6 separate regions of the Homo sapiens genome follow, and regions 2, 3, 4, 5 and 6 are each linked to region 1. Evidence: promoter capture Hi-C in 16 types of primary human blood cells and fetal thymus (Javierre and others, 2016). All regions are on one chromosome and are shown on one strand. The core of a region is centred on a gene start or on the middle of the fragment in contact, and the rest is flanking DNA. Distances in the headings are between cores, read along the strand shown.

Evidence for each region. Contacts are between HindIII fragments. The CHiCAGO score rates a contact against its expected background, and 5 or more counts as called.
Region 2: a fragment that was not itself captured here is called in contact with the fragment with the promoter of USP1 in region 1 in 1 of 17 cell types (activated CD4 T cells); the score reaches 7.6 in activated CD4 T cells.
Region 3: a contact is called between a fragment that was not itself captured here and the fragment with the promoter of USP1 in region 1, in 2 of 17 cell types (non-activated CD4 T cells and fetal thymus). The highest score is 5.8, in non-activated CD4 T cells.
Region 4: a contact is called between a fragment that was not itself captured here and the fragment with the promoter of USP1 in region 1, in 2 of 17 cell types (activated CD4 T cells and total CD8 T cells). The highest score is 8.6, in activated CD4 T cells.
Region 5: a contact is called between a fragment that was not itself captured here and the fragment with the promoter of USP1 in region 1, in 8 of 17 cell types (total B cells, naive B cells, activated CD4 T cells and 5 more). The highest score is 15.1, in total B cells.
Region 6: a fragment that was not itself captured here is called in contact with the fragment with the promoter of USP1 in region 1 in 1 of 17 cell types (total B cells); the score reaches 5.1 in total B cells.

Annotation. Positions count from the first base shown.
Region 1 is chr1:62,435,361-62,439,579 of GRCh38, reverse strand. It overlaps USP1 (ubiquitin specific peptidase 1), which reads right to left and starts at 2,531. Exons shown (of 9, transcript NM_003368.5): 1 at 2,180-2,531. RefSeq lists a silencer at 1,875-1,934 and enhancers at 2,635-2,704, 2,529-3,296, 3,265-3,614, 3,297-4,064. The HindIII fragment of the contact is 3,360 bases long and covers 576-3,935 here.
Region 2 is chr1:61,045,077-61,049,295 of GRCh38, reverse strand. No RefSeq gene overlaps it. Among named protein-coding and RNA genes, the nearest start is that of NFIA, 35 kb to the left of the region's middle. The HindIII fragment of the contact is 9,690 bases long and covers 1-4,219 here.
Region 3 is chr1:61,070,521-61,074,739 of GRCh38, reverse strand. No RefSeq gene overlaps it. Among named protein-coding and RNA genes, the nearest start is that of NFIA, 9.9 kb to the left of the region's middle. The HindIII fragment of the contact is 3,582 bases long and covers 395-3,976 here.
Region 4 is chr1:63,586,066-63,590,284 of GRCh38, reverse strand. No RefSeq gene overlaps it. Among named protein-coding and RNA genes, the nearest start is that of PGM1, 5.2 kb to the left of the region's middle. The HindIII fragment of the contact is 5,122 bases long and covers 1-4,219 here.
Region 5 is chr1:63,525,812-63,530,030 of GRCh38, reverse strand. All of the region lies in intron 2 of EFCAB7 (EF-hand calcium binding domain 7), which reads right to left. It also overlaps a transcript of ITGB3BP not described here and the pseudogene RN7SL488P. Among named protein-coding and RNA genes, the nearest start is that of EFCAB7, 4.4 kb to the right of the region's middle. The HindIII fragment of the contact is 4,590 bases long and covers 1-4,049 here.
Region 6 is chr1:63,441,067-63,445,285 of GRCh38, reverse strand. ITGB3BP (integrin subunit beta 3 binding protein) reads left to right here. Exons shown (of 9, transcript NM_014288.5): 9 at 4,183-4,219. Among named protein-coding and RNA genes, the nearest start is that of ALG6, 76 kb to the right of the region's middle. The HindIII fragment of the contact is 685 bases long and covers 1,970-2,654 here.

The DNA of each region.
Region 1 (4,219 bases), core at 1,282-3,781:
AATCAGCCTGCTATGGATTAAGGGTCGCATTACAAAATATCCTATTTAGTAGACCTACAGTAAAATAGTATAAGTAGTAAAAACTTATTATTTCAAGGGCCGGAAGCGATAGCTCACGCCTGTAATCCCAGCACTTTGGGAGGCCGAAGCGAGTGGATCACGAGGTCAGGAGTTCGAGACCAGCCTGACCAACATGGTGAAACCCCATCTCTACTAAAAATACAAAAATTAGCCGGGCGTGCTGGCGGGCGCCTGTAATCCCAGCTACTCAGGAGGCTGAGACAGGAGAATCCCTTGAATCCGGGAGGCGGAGGCTGCAGTGAGCCGAGATCGTGCCATTGCACTCCAGCCTGGGCCATAGAGCAAGACTTAGTCTCAAAAAAAAAACAACTTAATATTTCATTATAATGATTCATTCAGAAAATATTGACTGAGCACTACCACCTCTAATTCTCAAGTACAAGGTAGGAAAGGATGAATGGAAAATCAAAGTAGTGCTGGACGATGAGTCCTCTCTTCCAATGCCTTTTCTAGTTATTAACATGGATATATGAAAATAAAGTACCTAAAAAGCTTATTAAAGAATAATTTGCATTCAAGGCATAGAGATGGTGTTAAGTTATACCTAAAACCGTAAGTGAAAGATAAAACACAAGCAAAGTTGAGACCGTGATAAAAAAAACTGTTCGATGCACTTTGTGTAAATCCAATTCTTAATGCACTAGAAACCACAATACTCGTTTTCCAAACTTTTTAAAAAACTTTGGATTTTAAAAATAGTGCTTTGAGTAGGAAAAAAAGATGATTTGGTTTGCCATTTGCAACTTTCCCACCCTGTTTTAAAGTAAAACTTGCACGTGAAAAAAAATGGCAACATTTGTAGGAGTGTAGGAGTTAATATTTTCTACATCAGGCCTATTTTTCAGGACATGGGAGGAAAAATTATCTGACTAGAGTATTACCATAAAATTACTTAAAGCCCAAAACTTCAGCAACGAGTTTCAAATTTAAAATGCAGAGTAATAAAATGAACTACACAAGACTCACTCAAATTTCATCCTTAATAAGCATTTCACATGGCTGACACTGATCTAGGAATTCATACTGAACTCAGCACACTGAAACCATTTCTGAGACCCAAATCAGGAAGCACTGGAAAGCTGATCCATCTCTCCATTCTGTCTCCAACTTCACTTACTCTCCTGTCTACCTAATGCTTCTGAGGAAGCGCTGTCTTCTGAATGATAAACCAACCTGCGCTAAGTTCTCAGGGATCGCCAAGCATTAATGATTCTGATAAAAGGTTTTTCTCGAGAGCCAATTTAATGGATGACAGAAACTGGATCTCAAACCGACAGAGTAACCAGACTACACAGAAGGGAAGAATGATTAGGCAGGTGAAATAGCGGATCGTCAGCTTAATCAAAAAACCAAACCTCCTAGCCCCTCAAAGCAAAGCTCACACCGAGAATGTAACATTTTGCCAGGTGCAGTATCTTCCTTGCTATTTCTTGCTCCTGGCTTTCCTTGTAACTGGGGGGCTGTTACATCCAAAATATTTCTCCTGTAACTAAATCAACTTTCGCAGAAAGCACGACGAATCGACCATTATCTGTTGACAGCGTGAACACTCAGTCCCAATAGTTTTAAATTCTTTATAAGATGACACGACTCGATTCCGATTTTTCAACAAAAATCTACAAGGACATCTTCGCCAAGGTTTAAGACACGCGGCGTTCTAAACACTTCTTGAAAAAGTGTAAGTGAAAGAAAATGCGCGGTAAAATTTCGCAATTACCGACACAGGGCAACCTGCGTGGAAACGTTTCTTTCTCCCCATCCTTCACCGCTCTCGGGAACGGAAAGAAAGCTGGAAGGACGAGCAGCGACCAGGCTGCCCGGTCGGGGGAGGCTGGCGGCGGCGTCCTCGGCCCACACCCCCGCGCCGGGCGCCCTCGCCGCGGAGTTGGCCTATTTACGCCCAGCCCGCACCTGCCTTCTCGCGTCCCGGCGGCGGCAAGACAGGCGCCACGCCCGAGGCACACACGGCTCCCCCTGGCAGGTCGACCAGGGTGCGAGGCCAACACGGTCCCGGGGTCTCCCCGGCAGCTCCTCTCCCGCGCCGGCCGAACTTGCCCCCGCGCCCGGGAGCCGGCCCCTCCTCCCAGGCCCTCCTTACCTGGTCATGGCCCAAAGCGAAGTCCGCGGCGGTGACGCCGGCAAGTCCAACCCGAATGAGTGTGGGTGCGACAGGTGAGTCCCTGCCCCGAGCCCGCCGGGTCCCCGGCCCCAGGAAAATCTGGTCGGCTCGCCCTCCCCGCGGGGGAGTGACCATCCGCTCCCAAGAGCGGGAACCCCGACCGCCGCTCGCTCCCGTCTTGCACCAACACCAACTACATCCCGGGAGCGGCGCCCATCTGCGCCCGCCCCGGGAGAGCCAGGAGCGCAACAAGCAGCGGCCCCGCTCGCCGAACGCCTGAACCGCTAGGGTCTTTAGCACTCCGCCACCGAGGGGAACTTGGCGCGTTTTCCTCAGTCTCAGGACCCCCGTGTTTTAGCCTCCGCCCGCGCCAGCGCTGCGATTGAACGTGGCGTCCTTTGAAATTGCCGGTTCCAGTCTCCACGCTGCAGAGACACGAAAGGCAGGAGCCGTCTCGCGACGGCCACTCGCCCCTGGCACGCACGGGCTCCGGAGCCAGCTGGGACTGTAGTTCCCCAAAAGCCTAACGGGTTCCACAGTTTCAAACAACGCAGGCACAGAGCCGGGCAGCTCGTGCGGGTCCTCGCTGAGGGCGCGCGCGAGGTGCTAGCGGCCTGGCTGGCGGGCTCGAGCCTCACACCCTTTTTTTAACCATTCGTGCGCGCGAGTTGAGGGAAAAGCGTACGGGTCGGGAGACGGGACAGAGAGCAGACGGGATGGGCCACCACCTCGAGAAGGAGCCCAAATTCACCAATCCATGATGAACAATCCCCAAAACCGCGCCTCCCACCGCCCGGGGGAAGCCAATCAGAAGTACCTAGACCAAAGCCAATTAGATGGGCGGGAGCAGCAAGCCCATCTAATAGCAAAAAAGAAGAAAGGTGGGCTCCAGCCAATCATTGTTCGACATACGGAGTGTTCCTCAGGCGCGGTGCCCCTCCTTCCGCTCTCATTGGCGCTCGAGTGCGCGCTTTCGCTGCCGACTGTTAAAATCTTGTTTGGCGTTTTGTTAATCCTCGACGGTGGGACGCCGCGGAGGGTGCGGCTTCCGGAGCGAGGCCCTCGCGGTAAGCCCCGCCTCCGTTCGTGCGTACGCGCCCGGGCGGGGTTACCAAGAGAGCAGCTTCGGAAAATGGCTGCCCGGCTGGACGCCGCCGCGCTTGGGCTTTCAGTTCGGAGTCGCGGCCACACTAGGCCTAGGGCCATCCAATGAGACAAGGCGCTGCCACGGATAACAATACATGCTCAGGCGAATGCTGTAGAGCTGAGGCCCGGTCCTCAGCCCCTGCTCGCCTCATTTTCGCCTGTTTACCTCTTCCCTTTCTCGGCCGCAGGAGGAAACGAAAGAACAGTTTCAGGCCCAGCTCCGGCCGCGGGAGCTTCCCAGGGTTCCCGCGCGAGCCCTCCCAAAGGGTTCAGGAGCGGCAGGCAGGCCTCATCTGGTTGTGTGCTTCCTTTTGTGTTTGTGTGCCTGCTTTGGTGAGGTGACCTCAGCTCAAGTGCTGCAGTTAAGCAGGATACGTTCAGCCCAAATCCATTTAATCAAGTATTTTTAAGGTGCCTACTATGTGCCAGGCATTTTTCAAGGCGCGAGGGATGTAAAGGCATTCCCTGTCATAAAGGAGCATTACATTCTGGAGAGGGAGATACAAGTGACGCTAAGATAAGTGATAGATACGATAGCCTGGAAAGACCTCTTTGAGTTGACATTTGAGCAGAGCTGAATGAAAAAGCTTGGAGGAATCTGAGGGAAGAATGGTGCGGGCAGAGAGAACAGCAAGTTACAAACGTCCTGAAGCTTAATGTGGTTGGTGTTTTGAAAAGAAGCAAGGAGGCCAGGGCGCTTAGAGCGCAGTCAATTTGGGAAATAAGATGGGAGGAGATGAGATGAGTGAGAAAGGCAGGACCCTGGGTAAGCCGAGTAAGGAGATGGGAGTCGTTAGATGATTCTGAGCTGGGGAGTGGCGGGATTACACGTTGACCTTCAAGAGTACAAGCAGGGTCGGGCGTGGTGGCTCA
Region 2 (4,219 bases), core at 462-2,961, 1.4 Mb after region 1:
CTGATCTCAGGTGATCTGCCCGCCTCGACCTCCCAAAGTGCTTGGATTACTGGGATTACAGGCCTGAGCCACCGCACCCAGCCAACTTTCACCTATTTCTAATGTGAAAACCCATCTTTTATTCTAAGAAATCTAACTTGTAAGACTGTTTAGCTTCTTTCTGTTCCTTGAAGATTAGGGCCTTAGAGGAAGTGGGAGAGAGCTAAGAGGTTTCAGTGTTTGAGTAGGAAACAGGATGGGTTATGGGGAGTTTTGATAACTAGCTTATCTCCTCATAGACAACGGCTGTAGGCCGGGTGCTGTGGCTCACATCTGTAATCCCAGCTCTTTGGGAGGCCGAGGTGGGCGGATCACCCGAGGTCAGGAGTTCGAGACCAGCCTGGCCAACATGGCGAAACCCCATCTCTAATAAAAATATAAAAATTACTTGGGCGTGGTGGTACATCTGTAATCCCAGCTTCTCAGTAGTCAAGCAGGAGAATCACTTGAACCTGGGAGGTGGAGGCTGCAGTGAGCCGAGATCACACCACTGCGCTCCAGCCTGGGCAACAGAGTGAGACTCTGTCTCAGAGAAAAAAAAAAAAAAAAAAAAGACAATGGCTATGTGGTGGCTCAAGCCTGTAATCCCAGTGTTTGGGAGGTGCGCGGGTCACTTGAGCCCAGAGGCTGGAGACCAGCCTGAGCAACACAGAGAAACCCATTTCTACAAAAAAAAAAAAAAAAAAAAAAAAAAAAAAGCTGGGCGTGGTGGCCCATGCCTGTAATCCTAACTACTTCGACAGCCAAGATGGAAGGATGGCTTGAGCCTGGGAGGCTGAGGTTGCATTGAGCTGAAATGGCACCACTGCACTCCGGTCTGGGTGACAAGCTAGAACTGTCTCAGAAACAACAACAAAACGAACCAAAAAAACCAAACAACATCTTATATTTGTGGATGACTTACTATTACTATTTACTATTTTTATTATCATTTGCCTCTATTAAATGATTTAATTATCATTTTCACAATCTCATATGGTATACATTATCCCTATTTATTTATTTATTTATTTAAAGACAGGGTCTCTCTCTGTCACCCAGGCTGGGGTGCAGTGGCACAATCATAGCTCACTGCAGCCTCAAACTCCTGGGCTCAAGGGATCCTCCTGCTTTGGCCTCCCAAAGTGCTGGGATTATGAGCATGAGCCATTGCGTCTGGCCCATTATCCCAATTTTAAAGATGAGGAAACAAAGACATGGGGATGCAAGCCATAGTTGCTGTATTTTTTCTGCTTTTAAAAATATTTTTTGGCAGGTCACAGTGGCTCACGCCTGTAATCCCAGCACTTTGGGAGGCCAAGGCAGGTGGATCACCTGAGGTCAGGAGTTCGAGACCTGTCTGGCCAAAACAGGGTGAAACCCTGTCTCTACTAAAATACGAAAATTAGCAATTAGCTGGGTGTGGTGGTGGGCACTGTAATCTCAGCTACTTGGGAGGCTGAGGCAGGAGAATTGCTTGAACCCAGGAGGTGGAGGTTGCAGTGAGCTGACATTACAGCACTGCACTCCAGCCTCGGCGACAGAGCCAGATTCTGTCTCAAAAAAAAAAAAAAATTTTTTTTTTTTTACTCTAGGAGCCCTAGATCTGTATTTCACTATATTTCAGAATCTACCTTTTTTTTTTTCTTTTAGAGTTGTGATCCTGCTATGTTGCCCAGGCTGGAGTGTAGTGGCTGTTCACCGATACGGTGATAGCATACTTGTAGCCTTAAACTCCTGGTCTCAAGGGATCCTCCTCCCTCAGTCTCCTGAGTAGCTGGTACTGAAGACTCAAGCCACCATGTCCAGTCAGAATCTAACTTTAACATTAATCTACCTTTAAGTTTACCTACTGTGTGCTAGATTACTAGATTAGGAATTTTAAATATCAAGTGTCGTATAATTCTCACAACACCTTTGTGAAGGAAGACTAACTTCTGTCATCACAGAAGAGGAAGGAGAGGTTCAGGGAGATCAAGTGAGTCACTTAAAGTCTCATAGAGAAGTGGCAGAGCCAGGTTATGGAGAGCCCAGATCTCCCAGCACACACCCAGGTGTCTTCCACTGCATTACAAGTGGAATGTAATGCATTCCACTTGGCTGCATTACAGCCAAGAACGCACCAACTGGCTCTAGGGTACTTAAAAAAGTTATCAAGAAAGATCAGGCAGAAGGGTGGCTTGCTCGGTACTTTTGCTACACTAAAGATGTGGTAAAAGATGGTGTTTTCAGCCTCAGTTAATTGTAGATTATAATGTTTCCTAGGAAAATATTGATGATGGAAGAAGGGAGCAGGGGTGCATTGGGAGAAACCAAGAATGAGTGAATTTGTAATTTTATAAATATCAATAATTTATATTTATTTTATGACCAAACTGACCAAATGTCATTTTAGTGTATACATTACAATGAAAAGTTTAGTATAATCTAGCTATTGTCAAATCCTGGCATCTAAACTATAGTCATAGAGCTTTGTCGATCTGGTTATGGAAATTATTTACAATAGGTGTTTTTGTATAGCAAATGTTTTTGCTGGTCTGTATCCATGTAATAGGAACATTTTATGATGAAAGGACTGGATTGTTCAGGGAAGCAAATTATGCTTCTTTCAGGAGTGTTGTTTTGTCATTGTGCAACAATTACTCATTAGTTCCCCTTCTTCTTACTTACCTAAGTAGCAAACCAACCCGTTCATCATTCCTAACCAGAAAACGCCTTTCCATCCCCCAAAACAACTGAACTCATCAAAAGGTGTGGAGTTACTGATAGAAGGGTTTGAGTTGGGCATTGGATGTAAAGGTGTGCATTCCATCTTCTTTCTCCCACTGGGTCCAGCCATGATGCTTTTGCTTGCCAACACAATATCGTGAGCTCAGACTTTGGCAATTCATCTCTGGTTTCTTTACACTGAGAGTGTTTCTAATAATATAATAGATTTTCATTTTGAAACAGATGCCACAGAGGATTCGTTAGCAGGAAAACCCTACTGTGTAACTAACACTATAAAGTTACCAAATGTAAGGTTGGGTGGTTAGATTGTTAGCTTTTGGGGACCAGTTGGTAATTAGATAAGGGGGCTTTGTAAAGAAAAACCAGTTGAAACCAACACATATTAATGGAATGTATTTTGTATATTCTACACTGTTCTAGGTGCTAGGTGCTAGCAGAAATATGGAGAAATACAAGAGTATTTCTCCCAACATTTGCATTATTAGTTTTAGGGTAAAATTTTCTCCCATTCTCCCATTTTTCAAGTTCATGCCTTAGTTTCGTTATAATAAAATCATGAGGATAATGTTCAAAGAACATATACCCTAGCTCAAACATTAAGCTGATAAATTTTCTTCCTGAAATTACTATCTTCATTCTAGAATTTTAATGTTTCTCATTTCATCATCTTCACATAGCTAGGGTGACTTGAGAACAGACTTTAGGACTTCCATGTCATGGAAACACACATTGATTGGTGTAAGAGTGTGGATTGGATAGGTATATTTCTGGAAACCTTAGCTACTTCTTTTTGGTACCATTTCCCAAAAATGAGCAATCCAGGGCTTTTTTTTGGTAAATAAAGGGCAGAGCTGTGATCCAGTCTATAGGCCACTTTGGTCATTTATTTATTTTGACACAGAGTCTCGCTCTGTCACCCAGGCTGGAGTGCAGTGGTGTGATCTCAGCTCGATGCAACCTCTGCCTGCTGGGTTCAAGCAATTCTCCTGCCTCACTCAGCCTCCCGAGTAGCTGGGATTATAGGCATGTACCACTACGCCCGGCTAATTTTTGTATTTTTGGTAGAGACAGGATTTCACCATGTTGGCCAGGCTAGTCTCGAACTTATGACCATTCACCTGCCTTGGCCTCCCAATGTGCTGGGATTACAGGTGTCAGCCACCGCACCAGGCCTATAGGCCACTTTGAAACTCATTACTGTTCTTCATATCACCTGTGTTGAATCAGAGCATTGACCTTCCCAAGTCCCAGTCTCAGTACTTCAGAATGTGGGTATCTCCCTGAGTCAATTGCAGGGCACAGGCTGTTCTGTGTAGTTTCAGCTTTGGGAAAGCAGATACTTATTACAGTGAAATGACTTTTTACAACAGACAGGAATAAGATTTGCTTAAGAAGCTGAACTGCTGCTCTTGATCATGGAGGATGGAATGTTCAGTAAGGGCCACTGGTGAGAGTCTAATAAACTGATATT
Region 3 (4,219 bases), core at 936-3,435, 1.4 Mb after region 1:
CCTCCTCAGTAGTTGGGACTACAGGCACCCGCCACCATGCCTGGCTAATTTTTGTATTTTTAATAGAGACCGGGTTTCACCATGTTGGGCAGGATGGTCTCAATCTCCTGACCTTGTGATCCGCCCACCTCGGCCTCCCAAAGTGCTGGGATTACAGGTGTGAACCACCAAGCCTGGCCTCAACTTAGGTTTTAATGTTGGTTCTACCATGTGTATTTTTTTTTTTTTCAGGCAAAACCTCTGCAAGCTTTAGATTTCTGATCTGGAAAATGGGAGATAGATAACATATGTAAATTAACTAGTACATTATGTGTGCTCAATATAGGCTCATTGAAGGTGCTAAGAGCTAGGGATACAGCAAAGAATGAGACATTATCCCTGCCTCTAACAAGCTTTCAGTGCAATGGGGTAGATAAGACATAAAGCTAACTAATAGTGTAATGTAATAAGCGTTATGTCCAACATATATATATATATATATATACACACATATATATGTATAAAATGGGCAGTGGTGATAGAATGATTCATTTTGTCTGGGTCATTAAGGCAGAGACAGTCATTAAGGCCTAAAAAAGAGACATTTGTGTTGGGACAGAAATATGCATTAGTCAGGTAGACAGGTGAGGGGCAGGGCATTCCTCTCCAGGAAAACGCAATGATGTCAGTGTATGCAACAGGCCAAAGAATGGGGATGTATTCAATTGTGGCTAGTTGTCTAGTTAGGATTAGCTTGTATAGTCATGTGTCACTTCATGACAGGGATACATTCTGAGAAATACGTTGTTAGGCGATTTAGTCGTTGTAAGAACATCGTAGAGTATACTTGCAGAAACCTAGATGGTATAACCTTATACACACCTAGGCTATGTGGTATAGCTTATTGCTCCTAGGCTCAGCTCTGTACAGCAGGTTACTCTACTGAATATTATAGGCTACTGTAACACAATGGTAAGCATTCCTATATCTAAACATAGAAAAGGTACAATAAAAATACAGTATTATATAATCTTATAGGACCACCATTGTATCTGTGGTCTCTCATTGACTGAAACGTCCTTAGGCGGCACTGGACAGTATTACTGTAACTAGAGATGACCTTAGAAAGGCAGGCAGAGCCAAGGTGGTGGAGAGCATTGTGAACCCTTTGAACCTTCACTGGAGGGGCTGTATTTAACCAAGAGATATACAAAATAAGATTTACAAATTAGAAATATCATTCTAGTAGTGGAGGCAAAGAGAGTGGTTAGAAAGATATGAGAAAAGATGCAGTCCTGAGCTATGGCACCGCTGGAATGAATGAGAAAAAGAGAGAAAGGGAAGAAGGAGTAGAGCATGAAAGAGAGGTAAGGAAACAAGGAAGACCCTCCGCTGATACTGGTTTTCGGGGACTTTGATCAACAGAGGCAATTTAGGAGTAAATTTTTCCCAGACTCTTCTCAAAATTCAAATAGCCAGAAGATGTATAATAAGATCTGTTAGTGAAATAGGCTCTACTTACTCCACAAATTGCTGCTTCTAATATCCTTAAACCTAATATTAAATAATATTAAAATAATACCAGTAATAGTAGTTCACATGGCTTAAACGTTTACACTACATCAATTCTTCCCACCTTTGTGAATTTGCATTCCAGTAACCTTGGCTCCACCATGCCACTGGAAATCAGGTGCAAATCTAGTAGGGTGAATTTGGGTTGCTAACCCCATTGAGAGCCTCATGTTTCTGTGTAGGTTGGCTTTATGCCTTGAAAATAGTAGGCTCTTCCAGGAATTTTGCTTTGTTGACCCAAATAAAAACTTAATCCTCTTGCAAGACATTGATATGGAAACTAGAATGTTAGAGTTTTACAGAATTAGAAACATAATTCAAAATTGCAATATTTTTCTAATAATCAACTTAAGTTTTAATTTGTGAACGAAGTTGAATGTTGACACACAGAGATATATTTCACATTTTCTTGATTTGCCTGTATAAATCCTAGATCATTCAAATCACTTTTTAGACAAAGTAATCAACACAGGCATTCAAAGGACACACATTGCAATATAAATGATAAACACTACAAGCGAAATTAATCTAGGAATTGATGAGGTTCCCAAATAAGCAAGTTGTGGCAGACTATTGCCTCCCCACTCCCAAATCTGTTCTTTCTCTATTCTTAGATACACAGATGAGCTATTTAAAGTCAATATTAGGCTGAGCACAGTGGCTCACACCTGTAATCCCAGCACTTTGGGAGGCCAAAGCAGGCAGCTCGCTTGAGGCCAGGTGTTCGGGATCAGCCTGGCCAACATGGTGAAACCCCATCTCCACTAACAATACAAACATTCTCTGGGTTTGGTGGCACACATCTGTAGTCCCAGCTACTCAGGAGGCTGAGGCAGTAGAATCGCTTGAACCTGGGAGGCGGAGGTGCAGTGAGCTGAGATCATGCCATTGCACTCCCGCCTGAGCAAAGGAGCGAGACTCCAGCTCAAAAAAAAAAAAAAAAAAAAAAAAGTTCCTCAAGAGAGTTTGATCCCTCCCTACCATGTTTGAGAACCAATCCTATTAAAATAAAATCCTAATAAAATAAAAATAAAGTTAATATTTCCTAGCCTTCCTTGCAACTAAATATGACACATGATTAAGTTCTGTGAGCAGAATTGTTGGCTGCAACTTCATGACACTTGCTTAAAAGAAATTTGTCCTGGGCCAGGCATAGTGGCTCATGCCTATAACCCCAGCCTTTTCAAAGGCCAAGGCAGGAGGATCACTTGAGCCACAGGAGTTCAAGACAAGTCTGGGCAACATAGATAGACTTTGTCTCTGCAAAAAATAAAAATAAAAAATTTAGCTGGGCATGATGCCACACATCTGTAGTCCCTGATACTCAGGAGGCTGAGGCAGGAGATTGCTTGAGCCCTGGAGATTGAGGCTGCAGTGAGCTATGATCACACTACTGCATTCCAGCCTGGGCAATAAGAGTGAGATCCTGTCACAAAAAAAAAAAAAAAGGAAAGAAAGAAAGAGAGAAAGAGGAGAAAGAAGATAAAGAGGAGAAAGAAATGAGTGAAGGAGGGAAGGAGAAAAGGAAAAGGAAGGAAAGGAAGGAAGGGAGAAAGGTGGTGGGGAGCAGCAAGGGGAGAGAGAGAAGAAAGAGAAAGAAAGGAAAGAGAGAAAGAGAGAGAGAGAAAGGAAAGAAAGAAAGAAAGAGAGAAAAGAAAGAAAAGAAAGAAAGAAAGATAGATTTGTCCTGAACTTGTGGCCCTTTCCAAAGACAGCAATGATACTGAAATACCAACTTCAACTACAAAGACCCGGACAATTCCCTGGGAGACAAAAGAGCTACGGGATGAAAGGAACCTGCGTTCCTAAATAACCTCCTGGAGCAGAGCCGCTTCTCCAGCATAGATTATATTTAGGCTACCGTAGTTGTGTTTTTTTTAAGCTACAGTGTTTTCAGGTCTCCGATACAGCAGCCTAATCTTCTCTATAACTAATAATCAAGATTACAAAACAATCTCATGGTATATTTGAATTGTTTTCTCTCTGAAATCTCATGGCCTTTCTCCAATTTGGTATATAATATATCTAATTTTTTTATCAGCCTACTTTTCCAGACTCCCCTCCTGCTCAGTCTCTCTCGGCTGCCTCCTCATCCTAGCCACAAAAAATGACTGAGTTTTCCCTTTTTATCACCTCCCAAATATACCATACATGTTCATCCCTCTTTTTCCTTGTTTGTATGATTCTTTTTGCCCAGAAGACCCTGAAGTTGTCTCCCTGTTTCACCCATTTTCTCAAGGACCAATTTAATGTTGTTTCCCAACTCCCATAGGCGGAATTGGTCAATCTCCTCTGTGTTCTCTAACATCTTACACTCATCTAAGACCGCTCTCTTCACATTCTACATCAGTTATTTATTTGTGTGTCTGTCCACTGAGCTATGGGCTTCTTGAAAATGCAGTTATTTTATTCATCCTTGAAAGCTTATAAGCAAAGTGCCACAGTAGATCTTCAGTAAATGTTTGGTGAATTAATATGTAAATGACAGGAACAATGGTTACTTTTTCTAGACTTGCGTTCTGATAGAAAACAAGGTCAGGAGTATGGCTAATGCAAGACAGGGCATTATCACAAGGGTGGAATTGTCAGTATAACTAGCAGGGCATTGAATTTGCCTTTCACAGGCCTTCCACACAGGTCATCACCTTTAACCTTCCTACTGCATAAG
Region 4 (4,219 bases), core at 918-3,417, 1.2 Mb before region 1:
ACTTTTGGTTAGATGTCTTCCAGTTTGTAAACTGTTCTTTGTATGCATGCTAAACTTTTAAAAATTTTTAAAGTTTGATCTGATTTTAACACAGCGCATTCAGATTGCTGGCAGGATCTATTTCCTTGCAGTTGTAGGATTGAGGTCCCCATTTCTTAGATTAGACCTACCTGGATAATCTCCCTTTGTAACGTGTTCATAGGAGTAATGTATCATCGTATTCACAGGTTCTACCCACGTTCAAAAATTGACTTGCAGAGATTTCCAAGTTGTAGTATTTATGAAAAGCAAGAGAAGGAGTCTTATTCCCCTGTGGGTAGCACTGAAATCGGGAAAGAAGCCATTGGAAATATACCAAGATATGCAACAATGATTACCACTGAGTTGCAAGATAGGGCAATGTTTATTTTCTTTATATTTTATCTGGATTTTCCAGGTTTTCTATAGGGAATTTGTATTATTTTTAAAATGATAAGTACATATTATGTATTTTCCTTTTCTTTGAAATACCTTTTAAGTGGTAATCCTTACTTTTTTTTTTTTTTTTTTTTTTTTGGAGACAGTCTCACTCCATCACCCAGGCTGGAGTGCAGTGGCACGATCTTGGCTCACTTCCACCTCCACCTCTGGGGTTCAAGCAATGCTCGTGTCTCAGCCTCCCAAGTAGTTGGAATTACAGGCACATGCCACTATGCCCAGCTAATTTTTGTATTTTTAGTAGAGATGGCGTTTCGCCATGTTGGCCATGCTGGTCTGGAACTCCTGACCTCAAGTGATCTGCCTTCCTCGGCCTCCCAAAGTGCTGCAATTACAGACATGAGCCGCCACACCCGGCCCTCATTATTTCATTAATGAATTATTCTTTACCATTTAGATGTATTCGTTCGTGTATTGATTCATTAACTCTATAAATATGTTTTGAACTTGTACTAAATGACAGCTCTTTGAAAGGTGTTTGATGAATAAGACAAAATAGTCTCGGCCGGGCGCGGTGGCTCACGCCTATAATCCTAGCACTTTGGGAGGCCAAGGTGGGCGGATCATGAGGTCAGGAGATCGAGATCATCCTGGCTAACAGGGTAAAAACCCATCTCTACTAAAAATACAAAAAATTAGCCAGGTGTCGTGGCAGGTGCCTGTAGTCCCAGCTACTCAGGAGGCTGAGGCAGGAGGATGGCGTGAACCCGGGAGGCGGATCTTGCAGTGAGCCAGGATCGCACCACTGCACTCCAGCCTGGGCAACAGAGCGAGACTCCGTCTCAAAAAAAAAAAAAAAGCAAAATAGTCTCTGGTCTCACAGATCTTGCAATATGTTGCAGGAGACAGATACTGAATAATAAATCATAATTGTGATAAGTGCAACAAAGAAGTATAGGTGCTGTTAGATTGTAAATAGAAGGATCTATCATTGGAGAGAGTCATGGACAATATCCTGGAGAAAGTGCTATGTAAGCTGAGGGATAAAACAATGAGTAATAGTACCTGGCCAGGTGAAAAGAGAGGAGGAGCATTTCATTCCAGAAAGAACGTTAAGGGAAGTTTAAAGTAAGAAGGAATCTAGTGTCATCAATAACTTGAAAAAAGACAGTTAGTGTAACTGGAGTATAAAAACCTCGGGGTGGAATGGTAGGTCTGATCATATTGGGCCTTGTAGGGGATGTCAGGTGTTGAGATCTTTATCATAACAGCAGTGAACAAACAAAAGCATTTTGTTTTCATTGTGGCAAGACATACGTAATGAAATTTACCATTTTAATGATTTTTAAGTGTACATTCAGTGGCACTAAGTACATTCACATTGTTGTGCAACCATTGTACCATCCATCTCCAGAACATTTTCATCTTCGCAAACTGAAACTCTGTACCCATGAAACAGTAACTCCCCATTCCCTCCTCCCTCCTACCCCTGAAAACCACTATTCTGTCTCTATGAATTTTACTATTCTCAAGTACAATCATATTTATCCTTCATTTGCATTCCAATTGCAATGATTTAAAGAAATGTATTTACTATAGGATAGCAATCTTTGATGACTGCAACAAATAATCAATGGTATGTATGTGAAATTTATAATAAAAAAGATGTATGGAGTTTATAATGAAAATACTGGATGGTGAAGTGGGTGATATAGTGGCATTAACATTTAACAGTTATTAGTTACATGGCTTATATAGAAACCAATTATCAAAGTGAGAAATATTGAAAAGTAATTCATTAACAACATATAGACAAAGCCTTAGCAGGCACCTATTTGGCATACAATAAAAGCATGTATCATGTTATTGTTAAAAACAAAACAGCTCTATATCTATGTATCCTCATCTTCCTGTCTGGTGGTGTCAAGTAATGGTGGAATAATCTATATTGAGGAATATTGAGGATGTCTACAGTTTAGGACTAGAATGTCCTAAACTAGTCTCTAACTAGAGACTAGTCTCTCAGTTAACAGAGCTCTAATAGAGTAAGTCAGTTGTAAATAATCTTCTATAAGAATGTACAGTTATTTGTAACTGGAAAATAATTGACAATTCCATATCAACCCAAATTAATGCTGAACAATATTGCAAATGTCATTTTAGTTCATTTATGCAGTCTAAATCATAGGTTCTTCTTGACTGCAGATTCAGTTTATTAAATCCTGATCTATTTGTAATTTGCTGAAATGACTAGTTCCTACATATGGAAGCAATATGAAACCGATGTCCGTTTGTATCCATAAGTTATTCAGGTGTTTAAAACTTTTACTTGAATAAAAGTTAATAGATATCTGCATGCTGTGATTCTGAAGTTTGTTCCTGTGCCAAAATAATAATAGTTTCTGAATTCATGTTTCAGTGTCAAGTGGTTATTCATGAGGCTATGTGTGAAAAGGATTGATATATGTGATAAATTGGACTTTTTCCTTAGAATTCATTTTTGGAATCTTCTATAAAGGATATCAGTCTGAATTAATTTATATGAATATTTGATATGCAAATATTAATATTTCAAATGGCAAAAGATAAGATTTTTAAAAATACAGATTGTGAAGGACATTTTTCAAGAGATAATGAATGTCTTCATTTTTCCATTTCATCAGTATTCTTGATTCCTTGTTAGATGCTGTGGTAGGTTAAATAATGGCTCCTAAAAGTTATACATTTCCTAATCCCCAGAATCTGTGAGTGTTACCTTATATGGCATAAATGAGTTTGCAGATATAATTAAGAATCTTGAGATGGAAAGATTATCCTGGATTGTCCAAGAGGGCTCTAAATGCAATTACAAGTGTCCTTAGAAGACAGAGAAAGGGGGACATTTGACTGCAAAAGAGGAGAAGGCCAAGGAGGCAGATTGGAGTGATGTAGTCACGAGCCAAGGAATGCTGGCAGACACCAAAAGCTGGATGAGACAAAAAATGCAGTCTCCTTTAAAACTTTCCAAGGAAGCACCACCCTGTCGTCACCTTGATTTTGGCCCAGTTATACTGATTTTGAAATTCTGGCCTCCAGAACTGTGAGAAAATAAATTTCTGTTGTTTTAAGCTACCAAGTTTGTGGTAATTTGTTACAGCACTTATAGAAAACTAATACAGATTGATATGGTTTGGCTGTGTCCCCACCCTAATCTCATCTTGTAGTTCCCATAATCCCCACATGTCATGGGAGGGACCTGGTGGGAGGTAATTGAATCATAGGGGCAGTTAACCCCATGCTGCTGTTCTTGTGATAGTGAGTGAGTTCTCACAAGACCTGATGGTTTTATAAGGGGCTTCCCCCTTCTGCTGGGCACTCATTCTCTCTCTTGCCGCCCTGTGAAAAGGTGCCTTCTGCCATGATTTTAAGTTTCCTGAGGCCTCCCCAGCCATGCAGAACTGTGAGTCAATTAAACCTATTTTCTTTATGATTTACCCAGTTTCAGGTATTTCTTCATAGCAGCATGAGAACAGACTAATACACAGATGCTTTAATTTTATGGAGGGCTATGAGCCACAAAACTTATGGCTTGATCCTCTGGAGGCCTAAAGCATGATTTCAGGTGACAGCAAGAGACAGAATAAGGAAAAAAAAAAAAAAAGGCTATCCTAAGGCTCTACAATCAATAAACACCAGAGAAATATATATCAAGTGTAGCACGAGTGAAGGAAGGAATCAAGAAAATCACGGAGGTAAATATCTCCAAATTATTATCTTGCTTAAATTATCTGAAAAACTAAGGTCAAAAATGTTTTTTTCCTTG
Region 5 (4,219 bases), core at 505-3,004, 1.1 Mb before region 1:
GCTCACACCTGTAATTTGGGTTTACAATTATACTTTGGGTGGCCGAGGTGGGCAGGTCACCTGAGGTCAGGAGTTCAAGACCAGCCTGGCCAACATGGTGAAACCCTGTCTCTACTAAAAATACAAAAATTAGCCGGGCCTGGTGGCCTGCGCCTGTAATCCCAGCTACTTGGGAGGCTGAGGCAGGAGAATCGCTTGAACCTGGGAGGCGGAGACTGCAGTAAGCCGAGATTGAGCCACTGTGCTCCAGCCTGGGTGACAGAGGAAGACTGCATCTCAAAAAAAGAAATTTTATTTTATTATTATTATTATTTTTTGAGATGGAGTTTGGCTCTTGTTGCCCAGGCTGGAGTGCAATGGTGTAATCTCGGCTCACTGCAACCTCTGCCTCCCGGGTTCAAGTGATTCTCCTGCCTCAGCCTCCCGAGTAACTGGGATTACAGGCATGCACCACCACCCCCAGCTAATTTTGTATTTTTAGTAGAGACGTGGTTTCTCCACGTTGGTCAGGCTGGTCTCAAACTCCTGACCTCAGGTGATCCGCACGTCTCGGCCTCCCAAAGTGCTGGGATTATAGGCATGAGCCACCGCGCCTGGCAAGAAATTTTATAATCTAAATAGGAAGTCTACATCTGACTGTAAAATTGCTATCTATGGCCATAACTCATGGGTTATAACATATTAAAAATCCATAAATAAAATTCTCTTCTCCTCTAGATTATGCCAGTGACTTTCAGAGCTAACAGAAGTTGTAGTTGTGGTAACCGCCATCTTCCATATACCTATAAAGGCTTTGTGGAAATTCATTGCATTGGAGATAATATAAATGTTTTTATTCCCACAGTTTTATTTTGGATGTCGACAAAAGCCCTGATTACCATGCTGCCCTAGCAACAACAGGTAAGTAAGTATTTTGCCTAGTGTGTAAATGAACTATTCCTTAATTCAGCTGTTTACAGAATCAAAGAAATGGCAATATGTGTTTTAGGATTCCAACCCCAGCCAGCTCCTACCCTTTAAAAGCTGGGAATACAAGTAGATGTAAATGAAGTTGTAATTTTTTTTTTGCCTCTAAAATATTTTTATTTTAAAAAGGCTTAGTGTGCAAAGATGTTTATCATATTGCTACACTACTGCTACTAATAATAAAGGAAACAATGTTCAAAGAATCAAGGAGTGGTTAACTGAATCATGGTACATATACAGAACACATTTACACAACTACTAAATTATTTTTATGACAATGAATATTATATAAAATTTCCTGCAAAATTTCTTCCTTATTGTTAAGCCTAAAGTGCCTTTTTTCTAAGGTTCTTTTTTTTAAATCTTTAATTTTTGGAGATACATAGTAGGTGTATAATATGAGATTTTTTGATACAGGTATGCAATAATTACATCAGGGTAAATAGGGTATCTGTTGCCTCAAGCATTTATCCTTTGTTTCAAACAATCCAATTATACTCTAATTATTTTAAAATGTACACTTAAATGATTTTTTTTACTAGTGTCACCCTGTTGTGCTAGCTAAATACTAGGTCTTATTCTTTCTATTTTTCTATTTTCTATTTTCTCCCCCTACCCCCACTACCTTTCTCAGCCTCTGGTAACCATCATTTTACTCTCTATCTCCATGAGTTCAATTGTTTTAATTTTTAGCTCCCACAGATAAGAAAGAATGTGTGATGTTTGCCTTTCTGTGCCAGGCTTATTTCACTTAACATGATGACCTCCAGTTCTATCCATGTTATTGCAAATGACAGGATCTCATTCTTTTTTATGATAGCTGAATGGTACTCCACTGTGTATATGTACCACTTTTTTTATTTTTATCCATTCATCTATTGATGAACTCTTACGTTGCTTCCAAATTTGGGCTATTGTGAATAGTGCTGCAGTAAACATGGGAGTGCAGATATCTCTTCAATATGCTGATTTCCTTTTGGATATATACCAAGCAGTAGGATGCTAGATCCTATGGTAGCTGTATTTTTAGTTTTTTGAGAAGCCTCCAAACTGTTCTCCACAGTGGTTGTACTAATATACATTCCTACCAACAGTGTAAGAGGGTTCCCTTTTCTCCACATCCTTGCCAGCATTTGAAGTCCACATGAAAGAAAATTATATCTTCTGTTCAGTTTTGAGAAAAAAGGTATGTAACTTTTTCTCACAAGTGGTAGCTTAGCATATGCTTGCTGCTATCTTTAGTAACAAAGAAAATATTGTTTTAAAAAATGTACTGGTAATTAGACAAGAACAACTTTCTCAGAATAAAATTAATTATGCCAAAACATGTACTCAGTAAGCAGATGTCCCCATAGCTAAGAAATTGATACAATCTATTTCCTACTAACTTTAATCTCTAGGTTTAGAATTAGCTGGATCTAATGATTAAGTTTGATGATAGTAAAAATATCACGTAGCTGTAGATATTTAAATTTTGACACCATGATATGGATCTTTTGCCAGGGTTTACTTTAAAGTTCTGACATGCATCTATAATCCTGTATTATTTATAAATTGACAAAAAAGGAACTTAAAGCTATAGTAATGCTACCGCTGTCTCTGACCTTAAAATGGAAATGCACATAAGTGGCAGAAGGATATAGATGAAAGGTGTAGCAAGAAGCAGCAGCTCTAGTTCATGTTACTCCTTTTTAAAAAATAGTTTATCTAAAATCAATTATTACAACGTTAAGAGAGTATTCCACCCTAAAACCAAAAGTGTATATAACACTGAAGAGACAAACACTGTATAGTTATCCTCCCAGATAATTTCATAAGATTGATAGCACCTTAGTAATACATACACATTGATTCACAAACTAAATGCCATAGTAGTGGAAGGCATGTTAAACTTTTAAACTTAGCAGATTCCTTCTCTTAGTATATTTTCAAAACAGTAACAAAAAAAAACTCGGATTATTTTAGAAATAATGGCAAATTAGAAGTAATTTTAATTTATTGGCCAGGCGTGGTGGCTCACGCCTATAATGCCAGCACTTTGGGAGGCCGAGGCAGGCAGATCACCTGAGGTCAGGAGCTCGAGACCAGCCTGGCCAACATGGCAAAACCCCGTCTCTACTAAAAATACAAAAATTAGCCAGGCATGGTGGCGTGCAACTGTAATCTCAGCTACCCAGGAGGCTGAGGCAGGAGAATCGCTGGAACCCAGGAGGCAGAGGCTGCAGTGAATCAAGATCGCGCCACTGCACTCCAGCCTGGAAGACAGAGCAAGACTCCGTCTCAAAAAAAAAAAAATTTATTGGATGTCTGCCTAAACATTTAATGTATATGAATTAAACACAAATACTTAAAATTCAAAATAGAGCATTTTAGTAATTTTAAAATTATGTAAATCAAAATTAAACATGACTTTAAAAGTCAGTCATGTGCATTTGCATTTAAACTACTTTACAAATAATGTATTTTATTTAGACATCAAATAAATTTTAATCTTGTCAATTCTTGTATTCCTCAAAATACATTTCCTCAAATAGATCTTATTGGATACAAACTCAAGACACTGCTGCACAAATATGTCAGGGTTTTGGTTTAAGAAAATTCATTATAAAATTGGCAAAATAACTCAGTTTCTCTACCCATAAAGTTATTAGCCTTGATGAAACTGACATGAGTAGTCAGTGTTATCTAGTACTGTTGTTTACTACTCTCTCATGACTAAAGATGTCCAAATCATTTGATACTCCTGGAAAGAACCAAATTTGGTGGTTTTGGGGACCTTTGTAATGAGAGGAATTTTTAAATGTGATAAAGGACAGAAGCAATAAAAGACAAAACAAAAAATAAAAATAAGAAATAAAAAAACCCCAACTCAATTCTCTTTTAAAAGTTCACTTATCTCTCAGTACTTCACTTTTTCAGACATTCCACCCATTTTTACACATCCTTTACACTTTCCTCAGTATGGGTCAAATTCAGGCTAGTGACTTAAGAGGCCAAAAGCGTTTTAATTTTATTATGATAAATCTTAAAGCACCAAAATGAGAATTAAAAGTATCTTAAGCAAGTAGTAATTGATAGAAGCTTTCAATTACCCATCTAGTTTGTATAAACATTGAAAGTTTTATTTTGTAGTTCCTAGAATATGTAACTATATGATATGACATAATAGCTTACTGTAGTTCCATTGCTCAAGCTTCACTAAGAAACTGGGATGATTCAACAAGGTAATTCTAATTTCAGTCTTTCGGACCTA
Region 6 (4,219 bases), core at 1,063-3,562, 1.0 Mb before region 1:
GAAATGGAGTCTTGCTCTGTCACTCAGGCTGGAGTGCAGTGGCACGATCTCGGCTCACTGAAACCTCCACCTCCTGTATTCAAGTGATTCTCCTGCCCCAGCCTCCCGAGTAGCTGGGATTACAGTTGAGCACCACCATGCCCGGCTGATTGTTTGTATTTTTATTAGACATGGGGTTTCACCATGTTGGCCAGGCTGGTCTTGAACTCCTAACCTCAAGTGATCTGCCTGCCTCGGCCTCCCAAAGTGCTGCAATTACAGGAATGAGCCACCGTGCCCAGCCCTATTGAGTAATTTCTATGTGCCAGCAGTGTTATAAACACTTTATACGTATCCCATTTAATCTTCACAACAACGTATGAGGCAAATACAGTTATTACTTTTATTTTATAGGTAAGGCAATTGAGGCACAAACGAGGTTAAGTACCTTGTCCCAGAATCACCTAAAACAGGGCCAGGATACTAAACTGAGTAGTCTGGTGCCAGTGCCTGTGCTCTTGCCACCACCCAGTAGTAATCTGTGAATGTCAGGTTTCACTACTGGCCAAGGTTTTTATATCCTGTTAAGTAAGGATAATATATAAATATTATCCTTATAAATCCTATATGTAATAGGAGATATATATATATTGTAATAGGAGATATATATATATCTCCTATATGTAATAGGAGATATATATATATTGTAATAGGAGATATATATATATCCTATTATGTAATAGATTATATATGTCCTATATGTAATATCCTACATATATGTACATATATACATATATATCCTATATGTAATATATATATCCTATATGTAATATATATATCCTATATGTAATATATATATAGGATATATATATCTTATATATATCCATCCACATACACTTATATTCATTCATTATAAGGTTACCATTTTACAAAATTTCTGACCCATGAAAATCCAACAGAGAACATATTAGGTGGTGATCATAGATACATCGTCACAGTTACACATTTAGTAAATGAACGTGCAACATTTAGTGTTTGATAATCTCTGTAATAAACTTACAGGGAATTCAGAGTACTGAGAATAGCTTTGTGTTAATGGATTTTAGTAAAGATAACCACATTTTGGGGTGTTCTTTTGAGTCTTTGAGTAATACTTTCAAGAAACTGGAAAGAATTAAGGTTGAGCTACCAGTCAACTTCCCTTTCAGTGAGAAGCAAAAGAGCAATGACAGTGAAATTAAGTGACTTCACCTTTGAGGCATTTCCCTCAGTTCTGCCTTTCACCATGTTTTCATCTCACTTTGAGCATTTCCTTCATTATCTCCTTCGTTCCCTGACTTTTCACTTTAGTGTATATGGTTTCCAAATTATTATAGTCTCCTGGGCTATAAACCCACAATCTCAGCTGCCATACAATGTCCCCCAAGTATACTGATTTCATCATTTCCCCTCCAAAGATGTTTTTCTTCTACCTTTCTAGGGATTATATCATTCCATTGGTCAAATTCTCTCTCTCTTTGTCCCCACATCCAAACGCTGCCAGATTATATTACTTCTGAGAATGCTTAATTCTCCTTTCCACACCCACTGTACCAGTTTATTTCTCCATTACCTCTCTTCCAGATTATCATTGTCCCTATTGTAACCTACCTGTCTGCACTTTGGTCCCTTTCCCCTACAGCCTATCCTGCTACTGGACAAATGTATGCTTTAGAAGGTATCACTCTACCATATGTATGATAAAATCCAAATTTAAACTGACATTCAGGAGTCTCCCTGATCTGCCCACAGCTTACCTTTCCAGTTTCTTCATTGTGCCTTATTCATTCCAGATTACTTGCCATTTCTCAGACACCTTCCCCAGAAAGTGCCTTTCTCATGTCCTTACCTTGGGTCTTGTCTGCTCAACCTAGCATGCCTTTTCCCTCATTATTGTCAAAATTTTACCCGTCTTTCAAAACCTGCTTAGAACTCATCTTCTGCATAAGCTTCCCCAAATCCCTCTCCCCCATATTCTCTCATTGCTCTTTTGTATATTTGTCATAGCTGCCTGACTGGTATGCGTAAGGGAGGATGTGAATGAAACTCCTGATTTTGTCCTTATGCCCTAGAAACCTGACAGTACTCCTGATATCACCGTGGCCAACTTCCCTACCTGCACAACTGCTCCAGCCCTCTGTCACACTTCAGTGATTATTCCTCTTGACCTGTAATTGTTCAGTGGGGAGGACTGTCCCATACAGATTCACTCCCAGAGCCTTTAAAAAGTGAAGCCTTTGTGAAACAATGCTAGAATAAGAGAGAAAGTAAGGGTGACAGCAACCCAGAGGCCACAGCCAGAGTGCTAAGACCATCAAAAGATGGGAAGAGAAAAACATTTTGGCTAATGATAACGGGATATTGGGATACTTTAGTAACAATGTGGATGAATCACTTGGGTAACACAAGGATGAGGCTTAGTATGAACAAAGCGCTGTGTATTATGACAGTTTGAAACCTAATAAGGACACAAAATATAAGGCAAGTTATGATAAATGATACAAGTTCAGACTCTTCTAAGTTCTGGCCAATAACAAGTACAAACAAGGATTGTGCATCCAATGAGGATCAAAGTATCAACTTGATTGGTGGTGGAATTGATAACCCCCAACATGGCAGGCTCTCTAGTAGAAGCTTGGGGTAACTAAGGTAGATTGCCTTAAAGCAGAAATGCAACCTCTTCTTTCTCACACTAAGTTTAAATCTTGAATTCTGTGCACTTTACTGAACCTAAAAGCTGGATCTTTTAAATAGACCCCCAAGTCCGTGTGACTGTTAATGCTGTGAAGACCACAAGCCTGCCTTTTACATGCTTGACTGCAGGTCAGCACAATAGAATGGGTTGGTCTCCCTACTACATGAAATTAGGAAGTATTATAATAAAAAAGGTCCACTGGGATTGAGAGTAGACAGTGATAGGGAAACTACAAGGAGGGAAGAATTTGTGTAATGTTACTAGTAAAATGTAGACCAATGAATGTTCTGGACTTTGGCCAATCAAATTTGTCACACTTCCATGGAGTACAGAGGAAGAGTTGACAGAAGTTTCTTCCCCTTCAGACTGAGAAGTATTATTCTCTACTGTAAGTACCAAATGAAGAATAAGCAGTGTTATGGGAATTCACAGCAGACAGATCACCTCAGGATGGGATTATCTGTTTGTTTGTTTTTGTTTTTTAAAGACAGGGTCTCGTTCTGTCGCCCTGGCTGGACTGCAATGGTGCAATCATAGCTCACTGCATCCTTGACCTCCTGGGCTCAAGCAGTCCCTCTGCCTTGGCCTAGGAGTACAGGCATGAGCCACCACCCCCAGCCTTATTAGGTCATTTTTAAAGATCTCTTCCCACATGCCCTGTGGTAATGTATGCCATTAGTTGCCAAAGGCTGCTTCCTTCAAGGGCTTTCTCTCACAGAAGGATTCTAAGGCTGAAGAGACATGAGCCTCTACCACCACTAGGAGTCCCCAGAGGGACATATTCTGAATAGGAATCTGTCATAGTAAATACTGTCTTTTGGGCGGGGGGCAGCTGTTGGAGGAAACACCTGCTGAAAGGCCCCTAAGGCTTATAGACAAAGGCATGTAAATAAGTTTTCTGTAGGCCCTGTTGGAGTTTTAAAATTCTCTGAGAAGTATCTCATGTAAGTATGGTCACATAAGGTAAAGAATACTGAGTGCTATGTCAGAGTAGTCATATTGACAGTTACTAGTGAAGATAATCAAAAAGCAAATAAGGCCGGGCACAGTGGCTCATGCCTGTAATCGCAGCACTCTGGGAGGCCGAGGTGGGCAGATCACGAGGTCAGGAGTTCAAGACCAGCCTGGCCAACATAGTGAAACCCCGTCTCTACTAAAAATACAAAAATTAGCTGGGTGTGGTGGCACACACCTGTAGTCCCAGCTACTCAGGAGACTGAGGCAGGAGAATCACTTGAACACGGGAGGCAGAGGTTGCAGTCAGCCGAGACCATGCCACTCCACTCCAGCCTGGGGGAGAGTGAGACTCCGTCTCAAAAGAAAAAAGCAAATGAGAGGTTGCCAGCAGCATCTAACTAAACTAGGTACCAAACTAGATTGTTATTAGGTGTTAAAATCACTTCTTAAGTCATGTATGACGTGCATGTTAACTAATTCTTGATAATATAATTATCTTTTATATCTCACAGGCATTAAGAAGAAATGCACTCACCATGAGCACCAACT